3 separate regions of the Homo sapiens genome follow, and regions 1 and 2 are each linked to region 3. The links are contacts of gene promoters, found by promoter capture Hi-C in blood cells and fetal thymus (Javierre and others, 2016). All regions are on one chromosome and are shown on one strand. Each heading gives the region's core, a stretch centred on a gene start or on the middle of the fragment in contact. The rest is flanking DNA. Distances are from core to core; before and after follow the strand shown.

Region 1 (4,637 bases), core at 930-3,429, 380 kb before region 3:
TCTAAAGAGAACTAATATTAGAATCATCTGAATCACCAGAATCATCTACTTCAGAAAAATCAGATTCATCAAATGAATCTTCAGCCAACATGAGAACGATGTAACGTCATGTGTAGAAATGCTACGTTTTCTATGATTTGGCATTTTCAATGAAAATACAGAGCAAAATTCCCAAGAGGCAAGGCCAGAGGGCACGATAGTTCACAGAAGTACTTTAAAAGGTGTAGTGTAGTAGGTGTAATGCGGAGCCGGGCGCAGTGGCTCACGCCTGTAATCCCAGCACTTTGGGAGGCTGAGGCGGGCAGATCACCCAAGGCAAGGAGTTCGAGACCAGCCTGGCTAACATGGTGAAACCCTGTTTCCACTACAAATACAAAAGAATTAGCCGGACATGGTGGCGTGCCCTTGTAATCCCAGTTACTTAGGACGCTGAGGCAGGAGAATCACTTGAACCCGGGAGGCAGAGGTTGCAGTGAGTCAAGATCGCATCATGGCACTCCAGTTTGGGCAATAAGAGCGAAACTTGGTCTCAAAAGAAAAAAAAAGGTGTAGTGTGGACAATCTAGTTACAGCAACTGAGGTACAGTGAAGAAGGGAACCACATAATCTAAGCCTATCTTGTGCCAGTGTCCAGTGATGGGGCTAAGTGCCCATCCCTGGAAACTGCTCAAGCTAAGTGTCCTAAGATCGCACTTCTGCACAGCCGTGTGAGTCCTTCCCGTCGGACCCTGGGCTGCCTCTCACTTACCTTCTAATGATGCAGCCCCCTCTCCACATCAGGGCGATGCCACCATAATTGAGAGTCCAGCCAAACTCGGTGGCTGCCTGCCTTAGCAGCATAAAGCCTTGAGCGTAAGAGATGATCTTGGAAGCGTAGAGTGCCTAAAGAGTGACACAGAGACCTACTAGGATTGCCATTAGGAGAGTGACCGCCTTATGTCTACCAGTCTTATTCTCATCAGCAGTGGAGATCCCAGAAGGGCCAATATTCTAGGAAAACATTGTAAGTCAAGATCCAAGTCAAGGCTGAACTTCATTCCACCTGCCATCCTGTGGCCTCGAGTGTTCTCCCACCACAACCCCCACCCCCACTGCCTTCCGCAGGACCAACAAAGACCACTGCCAGGGACTGTGTCCCACCTTCCGAATGTCCTCCAGGAATGATTTCTTATCACCATCAAACTGGAACTTCTGGGGACCCTTCAGCTTTTTGCTAGCTTGAATTCTCTCATCCTTCAGAGATGATAAGCACCGAGCAAAGACAGCTTCTCCTACATGGGGAGATCGGGAAGAGGAAACAGATTACTGTCAGGCCTCTGAGCCCAAGCTAAACTATCATATCCCCTGTGACCTGCATGTATACATCCAGATGGCCTGAAGCAAGTGAAGAATCACAAAAGAAGTGAAAATGGCTGGTTCCTGCCTTTACTGATGACATTCCACCATTGTGATTTGTTCCTGCCCCACCTTAACTGAGCGATTAACCTTGTGACATTCCTTCTCCTGGCTCAGAACCTCCCCAACTGAGCACCTTGTGACCCCTCGGCCCTGCCCGTAAGAGAAAAACCCCCTTTGACTGTAATTTTCCACTACCTGCCCAAATCCTATAAAATGGCCCCACCCCTATCTCCCTTCGCTGACTCTTCGGACTCAACCTGCCTGCACCCAGGTGATTAAAAAGCTTTATTGCTCACACAAAGCCTGTTTGGTGGTCTTTTCACACGGATGCGCATGAAAATTACCAAAGTTCGCACAGCAACCAGAAGAAAGGTGGAGCAGGAAAGTCTGTTTATACAAAGAGCTGAAAGTTTCAACCTTAGGCCACAAAAGTTGACATGGATCGGAAGGAACTTTTATAAGAAGCTCTAAACAGTTAATTTGATAACTAAAACTCTTAAGACAATCTTCCAATACAAACATGAGTATTCAATCACAAAGATTAACATGAAATTCAAAAGGGAGTTTTGAGGGAAAATGAAGAGATAGAAACCACTGTTATGGCTGGGCAAGGTGGCTAACACCTGTAATCCCAGCACTTTGGCAGGCTGAGGTGGGAGGATCACTTGAGCCCAGGAGTTCAAGGCTACAGTGAGCCATGATCACACCACTGCTCTCCAGCCTGGGCAACACAGTGAGACCCTGTCTCTAAAACCAGTAAAATAAAATAAAAACCACTGTTATGTAGAATACTCAGTGTTGGTCCATGAGTAAAATTTCAAATTCAATTTAGAGGACCTTAATTTTTTTTTTTGAAGATTTTACATTGATAAGTCACATTTACGGACTCACCTCTCAAAAAAATGTTAGGTTTTTATATTTTACGGTTTTCAGTATAGCCGTAATCATTCAAGTTTAACCACTTTACTTCATTTGAATTAAAAAGTCAATGTAGTATTTTAATATTAAGACATTTAGTATTTTCAGAAAGTATTCCTTATAAAAGACTTGCTCAACTGACAACTTATAGTTAGAATAAATGACTCTTTAACCACTTTTTCCCCCATAGACAAAATGAAGTAAAATCTCAGGGAACTAACAGAGGACTTTATTTCTGAGGAAAGAGGAGCAGCTATGGCTTGAGACTGCTAACCCTACTCCAAACACACAAAAGCAGCTACCTCTCTCCTGGCCCAAATGCACACACAGGATGACTTAGCATTTCTAGAAGGAAGCTTTGTAAGATGACTGGTGCAACAGGCTATGAGGCAAACCCTTCCTGTTAGAGGGGGAGAGGGCAGCTGGAAGACTTCCCTGTTAGTTCACAAATAATGATGGCTCCCAGCAGGGGGTGGGCCCAGCCACCCTGGGGGAAGAGGTATATGGATCCACAGGAGGAGAGTAGGATTCTGAGATCCTAATACTTACACATATACTTGAGTCCGTGATGAATAAATTGCTCCTAGCTATTGGCCCCTCCCTCCTCACCTATGTTATGGCTCAGATCGGCTAAAAGCAGCCAACTTCCTTCTATACAGCACGGAACTGTAGAAACCACCGACTTTCCTCCTTACTCTGCCTTACACCACACAGTTCAATAGGGCGAGGCACAATGAACAGGGAGGTCAAAAGGGGAGAAGAGTCAAGGGAGAGAAAGGCAACCTGTATCCAGAGGAGCAAACAGGAAAAATTCTGTTTTATTATTTTTGAGATGCTTCTTTTTTTTTTTTTAGGCGGAGTCTTGCTCGGTCGCCCAGCCTGGAGTGCAGTGGTGCGATCTCAGCCCACTGCAAATTCCGCCTCCCAGGTTCAAGTGATTCTCCTGCCTCAGCCTCCTGAGTAGCTGGGATTACAGGCACGGGTCACTATGCCTGGCTAACTTTCGTATTTTTAGTAGAGATGGGGTTTCGCCATGTTGGTCAGGCTGGACTCAAACTCCTGACCTCGTGATCCGCCCACCTCGGTCACCCAAAGTGCTGGGATTACAGGCGTGAGCCACCGCGCCTGGCCCAATTCTGTTTTAATATAGTGAGAACAATCTGCCAGAAGCAAAGATCAGCCTCTCATTAACCACGAGAGGCATCCTTCGTTCTCCTTTTTCATTCCTGCCAGAAGTCTATGTATTTTACTCTTAGAACCACCTTTGCTGGGCATGGTGGCTCACGCCTGCAATCCCAGCACTTTTGGAAGCCGAGGCGGGCAGATCCCCTGAGGTTAGGAGTTCGAGACCAGCCTGACCAATATGGTAAAACCCCGTCTCCACTAATAACACACAAAAATTAGCCAGGCATGGTAGCGCATGCCTGTAATCCCAGCTACTCGGGAGGCTGAGGCAGGAGAATCACTTGAACCCGGGAGGTGGAGGTTGCAGTGACCCGAGATCATGCCACTGAACTCCAGCCTGGGTGACAGAGCACAACACCGTCTCAAAAAACAAACAAACACACTGAAAACCACCCCCCCGGCCAAGATTTTGATATTGTTAATCCCCTCTCGTTTTATGTTTATTTCTTTATATTATTTCCTTATCTTTCTGAGTTTGATGCTTAGCTCACTAATGTAAGATATAAAACAAGTGGGCAGGATACACACCAACTTCAGGATAGTGGCTTTCTTCTAAAAGAGGAAGGAGAAGGAACTTAGCAAAACAACGAGGACTCAAATGGATAGGTAATTTTTATCTTTTTAATATCTAGGGGAAAAAAGTAAATTTTTAATAATTTCTGAGTACACAAGCATATGTTATTCGCAAACTTTTTTTGGAGGGGATGGAGTCTCATTCTGTTGCCCAGGCTGGAGTGCAGTGGCATGATCTTGGCTCACTGCAACCTCTGCCTCCTGGGTTCAAGCGATTCTCATGGCTCAACCTCCTGAGTAGCTGGGATTACAGGCACCTGCTAATTTTTTTTTTTTTTTGAGACGAAGTCTCGCTCTGTCACCCAGGCTGGAGTGCAGTGGTGCCATCTCAGCTCACTGCAAACTCTGCCTCCCAGGTTCAAGCAATTCTCCTGCCTCAGCCTCCTGAGTGGCTGGGACTACAGGCACGTGCCACCACACCTGGCTAATTTTTTGTATTTTTAGTAGAAACAGGGTTTCATCATGTTAGCCAGGATGGTCTCAATCTCCTGACCTCATGATCCACCCGCCTCGGCCTCCCAAAGTGCTGGCATTACAGGCGTGAACCACTGTGCCCGGCCCTG
Region 2 (4,653 bases), core at 1,781-4,280, 310 kb before region 3:
TCAAGCAATCCTCCTGCCTCAGCCTCCGGAGTAGCTAGGACTACAGACATGCACCACCATGCCTGGCTAATTTAAAACAATTTTTTGTAGAGACAGTATCTCACTATGTTTCCCAGACTGGTCTTGAACTCATGTGCTGAACTGATCCTTCTGCCTCAGCTCCCAAAGTGCTGGATTACAGGCATGAGCCACTATGCCTGGCCCAATTTTACTGCTGCTGAGTGTCCAGTATCTGCTGGGTATTTTACTATGCAGGACTCTTGCAACAAAAAACAGGGGATCCCCTATGTTGTTTTTAATTCTAAAGTAACTTTTCCCAGCTTCAGGTATTCAAGATCTTCCATACTTTGCCTCAACTGATCTTGGCCCCTGTTGTCCTTCCCACACTTACTATTCTGGCTCACTCACTCACCTGCTGCTCCTTTCACCTGCTCTCTCCTCAGCTGTGCCAAGGACTGGCCCAGGCTGCAACCCTGCCTGGAAGGCCCTTCCAGCACATCCATGCATGTACTGACTATGGCCTATGTGCCAGGCACAATGCCAAGTTTGACACACCTTTTCTTGCTTATACTACATCCTTCAGGGAGCTTCCTATCCCCTTTCTCCACCCAACTATCCTCCCCAACAAAAAGTAACTTAAAATAGCTTTCCATTAATAGAAATAACTTTCCCTTTCTCCACTCCCACTGCATTTAGTGAATATTTTCTCATGTTCATCTTTGCATGACTGGTGTTTATGTATGCATTTTATTTCCCCTATCGTAATTCGAAGCTCACTGGGAGCATCTGAGATTCATCTGCATTCCCCAGTTGTCAGGCACAATCCTTGTGCACAGCAGCTGATCAAAGTTTATCAGATACATGCTTGCTTATATTTATACCAACATGAAAAAGAAGATGGCATATTTTGTGTTTGCTTGTTCCATCTTTGAAGTTCTCCTTTCCTCTCTTACTTTAGAGAGCAGACATGGTTAGCAAGAGAATGAGAGACAGTTTCATGTAGTAGTGAATATCCTGAATACCAGAGCTAAATTTCTCTGAGCTTAAGTCCTATCTCTGCCTCTTGTAACACTGATGAGTAACTTTATTTTTATTATTACTTTTTTATTTTTTTTGAGATGGGAGTCTCGCTTTCTTGCCCAGGCTGGAGTGCAGTGGCACAATCTCAACTCACTGCAACCCCCCCATCCTGGGTTCAAGCAATTCTCGTGTCTCAGATGGGATTTCACCATGTTGGCCAGGCTGGTCACAAACTCCTGACCTCAAGTGATCCACCTGCCTCGGCCTCCCAGAGTGCCGGGACAGGTATGAGCCACTGCGCCCAGCCTGATGAGTGACTTTAATTGCTCTATGCTTCAGTCATCTCAGCTAACACAGGGATTATCTTAATCTATGGTATAAAGGTAAAGATTAAATTACACAAAAACTCTCAGAACAGTGACTAACACAAAATAAACTCTCAGTGAATATTAGCTATTGTGATGAGGATAATGACTTTGGAATAGAGTTTGAATGAAATTTCACGTAAGAGAGGGAAGGGTCTGTTTTCTTACTCCACGTAGGAATACAGTTGTAAAGGGCATTAATGTGTTAATTATACTATCAGTTGCAAGGAAAACAGATCTAAATCTTAATTTAGCTACAGAAGGTATTTGATATTTTTTATGTTATTTGCAATCGAGCAACATAAGTATCTTAGGGTTTAAAGGACAATGCATTCACTTTAATAAAACTCTTATTAAGCATGCTTATTTTTCTAGGACAGAAACACTAAAACAACTCATTGCATTCAAACTGATGGAAGATTTTATTGGCAGACGAACCCACATTCACTAGGCCCACTGTAACACAGACAAGAAGGCTTGCTGCTCAGGCCGCTGTGGATGACCTCACCACTCTAGCCACGCCCTCTATTGTCTACTCTCCCCCTGCACAGCCAGTGACTTGTACCTCTTCTTATCACCCTTCCCGGGCTGAGAAAGCCAAGGTACCAGAAAAACATATGTTTGGCAAAAAGGTCCATGTCACTTACATTCTGCACATGATAAAAGGCCAGGGGACTTCCTCTGCCATTGTTTTTGAGGGGCTCCGTGGAGAATGCTTCATCATGGCGATGCAAAAAGCTTCATAAAAAAAATAAAAAGACTCGTGAACAATGCATTAAACGGTTTTATCAGAATCTCTTTCAAGAGCCCAATGTGGATCCTACAGAAAGAAGCATTCCACTTAAGCAGATTCTTTAAGTTATTTACTTTCCTTGTCAAGAACCTTTTCCATATTGCACAGAGGGCATTTTAGATTTTATTTCAAAAATGACTGAAAAATTAACTGACCCTGATCACTTAGCTATATGGAGGTATATGCAAGAATGCTTTAGAGAGAGTGAAGAAGTACATTCAATTAACTCCTCTTCCTTTGTAAAAGCTTTTTACTAAAAATAAAAACAATGTCATTTTGTACAGACAAAATTTAGCAGACTCAAGCTTCCACAGTTAGTGCGAGAGCCTGTGGATGGCATAGTTACATAAGAGTCTGTTGTGGATTCAAATGTCACCTCTTCCAGGCAGTCTTTCCTGACTTACCCTGGCAGCTTTGTGTTCCCACATTACTAGTAATGTTTTTTTCCTTAATAGCAATGATTTCACTGTAATAATGTATTTATATGCCTCTCTCCCCCAGACAGCAAGCGTTTTCCCACAGGTCTCGACACACAGAAGATACTCTGGAAAGATTTGTTAAAACAATGGGCTATATTTAGTTATTTTCACAGATAGTGAGATGTTATCGTTCTCTCTCTCTCTCTCCCTATTATTAGTCTGAAATAAAAAGAACTGCACAGTTAAAGAGGACCCAACACAAAGATTTACTGCCAGATAGAAAAATCCATCAGAAGGACACCCCTTCCATCAAGAAAAAATGGAGAAAAAGAAACTATTTTCAACTGGGGGGACAGACAGACTGGTAATATGAACTTGTTGTCTTCCAAATTAGTTCACCCGTCTGAGAACACTAGCATGCTTTTGCCAAGTGCTCCAAATCCCTGATTCCTGTATTGCTGGCACCGCAGCATTCCTGGGGTTCCCTGACGACAGGTGAACTCATTCACAGTGCTCTGCAGCCATACCTTCCCGGCACAGGCCAGAGGAGCGACTATAAAAACACAGGACGCCTTTGAGGCTGCTTTCAACAGAAGCAACATGCCCTTTTCCCCAGAGCTAACACCAGGTAGAGATGCTGCTCTTTTTAGGAGATTGTAGGACAAAGGTCAACTCACTATTATTGTCACTTCAGACATCAGTTAACCAAATAGATGTTTTCCATAAAACGTATCAGTTGCCTGATTAGAATAATAGCAACAGTTCCAAAAAACAGATTCATCTGGTGAACACTATCCTGCCCTAAGTTTGAGGGTATGAGTGAAAACACATTAAATAGGTGAAATCAATGCTCAATGGGTAATATTCCAACAACTATGACTTGTAGCAAATGATATTAGTGGCTTACTATATAGTGATCACATTTAATTTAAATCACATTTGACTCAATTTTCTGTGATAAAACCTATACAAAAGCTTTATAAACTGCACTAGGACCCATGGGACGGCCAAGGCACATTCTGAGGGGAGAGGGATGGCAGAACCCAAAGCAGCCTCTTGGTGGCACCAGTGGCAAACTGAGGGCGGTAGGTATGGAGGGGTCACACTTCAGTCTCTTGTACTGTGGCCCTTTCCAAGTACTGAAAAGACAAATTGAAGTTTGGAGGTATTAAAACTGAAGATTCACAAAAAAATGTTTTCCTGGGGCAGTCTTGAGAAGAAAGCATCCAGAGCACAGGGTTTGAGAGGGCCGCGGGAAAGAGCAAGTCCTATGTAGATGAGAAATGAGAGGTATCACATCTTCCCTACATACTAGCTTTTTTCAGTTGATGTAGAATTTATCCTTCTTTACATTGTTTAAATTTTCCTTTTCCCGAGTATTAAATAGGCGTAATTGCTAGCTAGATAAGTCATTGCTTTCAGGCTTATTAATAAGACATTTCAACATGAAGAGGACTAGAAAGACTCATCAACAGGCTTATGTGATCAGACCCTACATTCCTGGTAAAGGGGGACCGCTCACAGCAGAGCCCTGCAGCAGGATGTGCAGCATGCTCCTCCTGCCAGGGAACCCTGTTGCATTCCAGGACAGGTTTCTGGTTCTCACTCCCATAGGAGTGATGAAAGTATTTTCCTTCAGAGACTGATCAGTCTTTGTCTCAAGAGTGTTAATCCCTCACACATGTAAAGCACTCTACAGTGCACAAGAGATGTCACCTCGGTTAGCAGCTAGCTGGGAGGCAGAGCAAAGGGGCAGCTTACTTGAACTGACAGAAGATATCTGCATACTCTGGGAGGATTCCACTGGCCTGCAACACTGTTACTCGGAAAGTGAAGGCACTGCCCAGTTTCAGGTGGTTGCCAATCTCTTCAGAAAACCCTTCCATTACCATCTTACCATCCAGCAAAGTGCTTGACTTCAAATCTAAAGAGGGTCAAATGAAGACACAGATGGTTCAAATAATGCAAAGAGGAGGGAGTTGGGCATGCTTTCCATTCCTAGTTGATGAAGGCCACTATGTCCCTTGATAATGGTCAATATTTTCCCTTTGTCGAA
Region 3 (4,589 bases), core at 2,028-4,527:
TGAAAGTGAAGAGACACATTTTAGATTATACAATATCTTCACTGGTCTGTAATGCCTCACTGGTTTGAAAAGAATTTTTTGGTGAAAACTCAAGTATGCAAAAGCCTCTAAACCAAGGACTATTAACAGATCATCAAAAAAAAAAAAAAAAAGTAATTTATAGGAGTAAAGGACTACTAAAAAACTACCTCGGCCGGGCGCGGTGGCTCACACCTGTAATCCCAGCACTTTGGAAGGCCGAGGCGGGCGGATCACGAGGTCAGGAGATTGAGACCATCCTGGGCTAACACGGTGAAACCCCGTCTCTACTAAAAACACAAAAAATTAGCCGGGCGTGGTGGCGGGCGCCTGTAGTCCCAGCTACTCGGGAGGCTGAGGCAGGAGAATGGCGTGAACCCGGGAAGCGGAGCTTTGCAGTGAGCTGAGATCGCGCCACTGCACTCTAGCCTGGGCAACAGAGCGAGGCTCCGTCTCAAAAAAAATAAAATAAAATAAATAAAAAATAAAAAAAAATAAAAAAACTATCTCTGGCCGGTCACGGTGGCTCACGCCTGTAATCCCAGCACTTTGGGAGGCCGAGGCGGGCAGATCACAAGGTCAGGAAATCGAGACCATCCTGGCTAACACAGTGAAACCCCGTCTCTACTAAAAACACAAAAAAATACAAAAAACTAGCCGGGAGTGGTGGCGGGCGCTTGTAGTCCCAGCTACTCCGGAGTCTGAGGCAGGAGAATGGCGTGAACCCGGGAGGCAGAGCTTGCAGTGAGCTGAGATAGCGCCACTGCACTCCAGCCTGGGCGACAGAGCGAGACTCCGCCTCAAAAAAAAAAAAAAAAAAAAAAAAACAGTATCTCTGCCTTAAGAGAAATTACTCACTAGAATTAACATTAATGAAAAACGGGGGAGGTAGAGAAACTTTTAAAAAACCACATAAAACAGGCCAGGCGCGGTGGCTCACGCCTGTAATCCCAGCACTTTGGGAGGCTGAGGCGGGTGCATCACGAGGTCAAGAGATGGAGACCATCCTGGCCAACATGGTGAAACCCCATCTCTACTAAAAATACAAAAAATAGCCGGGCGTGGTAGCGGGCGCCTGTAGTCCCAGCTACTCAGGGGGCTGAGGCAGGAGAATGGTGTGAACCCGGGAGGCGGAGCTTGCAGTGAGACGAGATCGCGCCACTGCACTGCAGCCTGGGCGACAGAGCAAGACTCCGTCTCAAAAAAACAAACAAACAAAAAAAAACCCACATAAAATAAAGCGATTCTAAGGAGATTTCCTACCGAATGAAAGAAACTGTGTAATATTCTCTTCACTTAAGATTACATTTCTGCTGTATTCGAAAAAAACAAAGTAACGCCGAATGGGCAGTCCTGATTTTCCAAACCAAGTATCCAAGTATCACAATCAACAAAATCATTTGCTTCCTTTCCTACCTGACCCTTAACACACCACTGCGTGTCCTATCCCAGGAGAATTTCAGTCCCTAAGTAAACACACTAAGTACTCTGTAGCTAAAACTGGAGCATGGAAGTCTTGTAGTACAATCAACTTGATGGATGACTGCTTTCCTAATACTGTAGGGAAGTTTACATGATGAACCAGTGAAGAAATGTGGAGGTAGGCTAAAGAGGGTATGGCCAGTAGGGGTCCTGAAAGGGAAGCTCCTAATTTGCAAAAAGGAAGAGAAAAGGCAGTAGAATCATAGGAAATTCCTTGTACCCTAATTGCCACTGCTTTTTGGTTGTTTTTTTTTTTACAACAACCTAATTTATTAAACAATCTTTAAAACATCAAGAAGTAGATCTGTATAACTCCTTTAAGAAATGAGAACAGGAGAGAGTTTAGAAAGTCATTTGCTTCCACTTGCTTCCCGTTCAGTCTCTGCTACAGCAAAACACAAGTTTGAAAGATTCAAGAAGTAGGAAAAGATAGAATGTAACAGAAGAATGCCAGAAGTCATTAGTGGTCTATTAAGTACCAGAATATAACTGGAATTCTCTAAACTGTGGAGAAGATACATATTTTGTTAAATATCAAAGAATCTGTCTGTAAACCACCCCTCAAGCAAAAATATATGTTTAATCAAGCTTATACAGTGCAATAACCACACATATCTGGAATTTCAAATGCTTTCTTTAAAAATATTCACCCACCATACATTCTCATTCCATCCAAAATTGTTCTTTAAATTCCTGAAGACACAGACACACACACACTTTAACTTCATGTAAATCTCGCCCTTCTTGTTCGCATACCCTGAAGAAAAGAATAAACACCTCAAGATGCTCTCTCCTCTTGTTCATACCCTAAAAGAACACTCGGAAAGAAGCAAATGGAGTTCAGAATGAAGAAAGAAGGCAACAGAATAAAGGAGAACAAAACCAGAGACCCTATCGGGGAGTCACGTTATTCTTGGAAAATATCATCTCCGTTCCTTCTCCAAGCCCAAAGGCCAGACAGCACTGGCGCAATACCATCCCTGTCCAAAGCGCTAACGAGTTGCCAACTAATCCCTCAAGGTGTCCCCCAACCTCCTCACCTCATCAGCGCTCAGCTCCTCCATCGCTTTCCTCTTAATGGTGAAAGGCGTTAAGGAGAGATCCTTCTGTTCTCGAGACCACGGCGGGAGGAAGGAGAGTGGAAGGTGTCTATCAGGCTGTCTGGTCCCCCGAATGGGGGAGGTTTCAGAATTGCATAGTCAGAGGTTAAAAAATAAGAACACGAGAGGCACTAAACTGCCTTGGCTTCGGTCACTCCAGTCGCCCCACAGACTACTACAGCCGCTTGTTCCCTGAGCAGCCTCCTTTGGCCGCCACTGCTGCTGCTACAGGGTTGTCTTAAGGCGCCACTTATTACCCTCTGCTTCCCAGGTTACCCAGCTAGGCAGCGCGGTCTCCAGTTCGTCTCGTGCCCCGAGCCTGCTGTTTCTTCGTGATAGTGGCGCGGTAGCTGCGTTCCTACAGCAGATCCTGCTCTCCTTCCTACCCTTTGCTCCTGGCGGGAACTGGTCGACTGCAGAGTGGATACCCCGAGGTAAGGCGACCCCACAGCCGTCCTGGCAGAGCCCAGCACTGTAAGGGAAGCCCCTCCCCTCCCAAAGCAGGCCGGCCACGCCCCGCCTCCACGCCGGAGCCCGGGTAGGGGGGAGGGGGAGGATGGGATGCGCGTAGCTCTCGCTGGAAGAGTAAATCCTCCTACCCCTCCACCCCTACTCTTTCCCCCTCGCCCCACCAAGTATTATTCATCAAAACAACAGGGCGGCCATCTTTGAAAGGGATCACGTGACCCCCGTCAGGGAGGCGGGGCTTCTGGCGCCGGGACGTGGCAGCCAATAGGCCGCGGGCGCCGCGCCGCCGAGTTCCTCTCGCCTGCGTCCTCTCCCCGCCTCCGTCCCACCCCGTCCCGCGCAGCCGCGCCGGACGTGGGGAGGGGCAAAGGGAGGCTGGCGGCTGGGCGGGGCGTTGCCACGGCGACCGCGCTGGGGCTGCGGGCGCGGCGGGCCTGAGCCAGGTAGGCTGGCAAGGGGAGGGACGACTCCCAGACTCGCGTCGGGGAAGATCCACCAGAAGGTGGCGCTGGCCCGCGGCCCGGGGGCCCGCCGCGCCTCCGTTGTTCCCAATCGCCTGCTTTTCTGTGACTTGGGGGCCTAGAAACACCTCATCGCTCCCACTGGACTGTGCGCGCCCGCCGCCTAAGCGAGGGAAAAGAAAACGGAAAACGTCTCCTTGACCCCGGGAGCGTGATCTACCGTATTGAGCGCTCATTTTCTGAAACATCTGCCACACACTCTTCCACCTCCTCCAGGAAAGCCCAGTTGGAAGAAAACTCGAACACAAGAACTCCCATTCATTTTATTTTACCTTGGCCTTTTAGAGATACTTCCTGGGTTTTTTTTTTTTTAAGTGTGTTCAAAAAGTATTGGTAAAATTTGAAAGTATAAATGGATGAGAGACCCAAATCACTGAATTGTACACAGCAAATGCAAGGAAGACGTTTGGAGTCAGTGGGGGAAAACCATCCTCCGGTGCACAAGAATACAAATATTTGGCCGGGCGCGGTGGCTCACGCCTGTAATCCCAGCACTTTGGGAGGCCGAGGCGGGCGGATCACGAGGTCAGGAGATCGAGACCATCCTGGCTAACACGGTGAAACCCCGTCTCTACTAAAAAATACAAAAAATCAGCCAGATGTGGCGGCGGGCGCCTGTAGTCCCGGCTACTCGGGAGGCTGAGGCAGGAGAATGGCGTGAACCCGGGAGGCGGAGCTTGCAGTGAGCCGAGATCGCGCCACTGCACTCCAGCCTGGGCGACAGAGCGCGACTCCATCTCAAAAAATATATATATATGTATGTATATATATATTTATAAAATATAAATCTAAGTTGAGCGATCAAAGTAACAGTACCATGAAATTCCAGATTTTGCCGCTGACGAAGACTATAAGTGGATTGGATGGCTCACTAAGCCATAAAGACTGCATTCCAGAATTAAGAGTTACAATGTATTTGCTACATGCTTAAAATAGGAACCTGACTACTAGATATGTAAGGAATTTGTGAGTAAAAATATGTAAGGAATTTGTGAGTAAA

Evidence for each region. Contacts are between HindIII fragments. The CHiCAGO score rates a contact against its expected background, and 5 or more counts as called.
Region 1: a fragment that was not itself captured here is called in contact with the fragment with the promoter of UBE4B in region 3 in 3 of 17 cell types (erythroblasts, monocytes and megakaryocytes); the score reaches 6.1 in erythroblasts.
Region 2: a fragment that was not itself captured here is called in contact with the fragment with the promoter of UBE4B in region 3 in 2 of 17 cell types (endothelial precursors and megakaryocytes); the score reaches 8.5 in endothelial precursors.

The regions. Positions count from the first base shown.
Region 1 is chr1:10,413,621-10,418,257 of GRCh38, reverse strand. It overlaps PGD (phosphogluconate dehydrogenase), which reads right to left. Exons shown (of 13, transcript NM_002631.4): 9 at 1,141-1,271; 10 at 749-882. Among named protein-coding and RNA genes, the nearest start is that of CENPS, 14 kb to the left of the region's middle. The HindIII fragment of the contact is 991 bases long and covers 1,684-2,674 here.
Region 2 is chr1:10,337,239-10,341,891 of GRCh38, reverse strand. KIF1B (kinesin family member 1B) reads right to left here. Exons shown (of 49, transcript NM_001365951.3): 31 at 4,359-4,521; 32 at 2,033-2,123. Among named protein-coding and RNA genes, the nearest start is that of PGD, 59 kb to the left of the region's middle. The HindIII fragment of the contact is 1,089 bases long and covers 2,486-3,574 here.
Region 3 is chr1:10,031,646-10,036,234 of GRCh38, reverse strand. It overlaps UBE4B (ubiquitination factor E4B), which reads right to left and starts at 3,277. Exons shown (of 28, transcript NM_001105562.3): 1 at 2,541-3,277. The coding sequence starts at 2,564. RefSeq lists enhancers at 2,410-2,459, 2,851-3,505 and silencers at 3,020-3,239, 3,270-3,659. The HindIII fragment of the contact is 8,691 bases long and covers 2,091-4,589 here.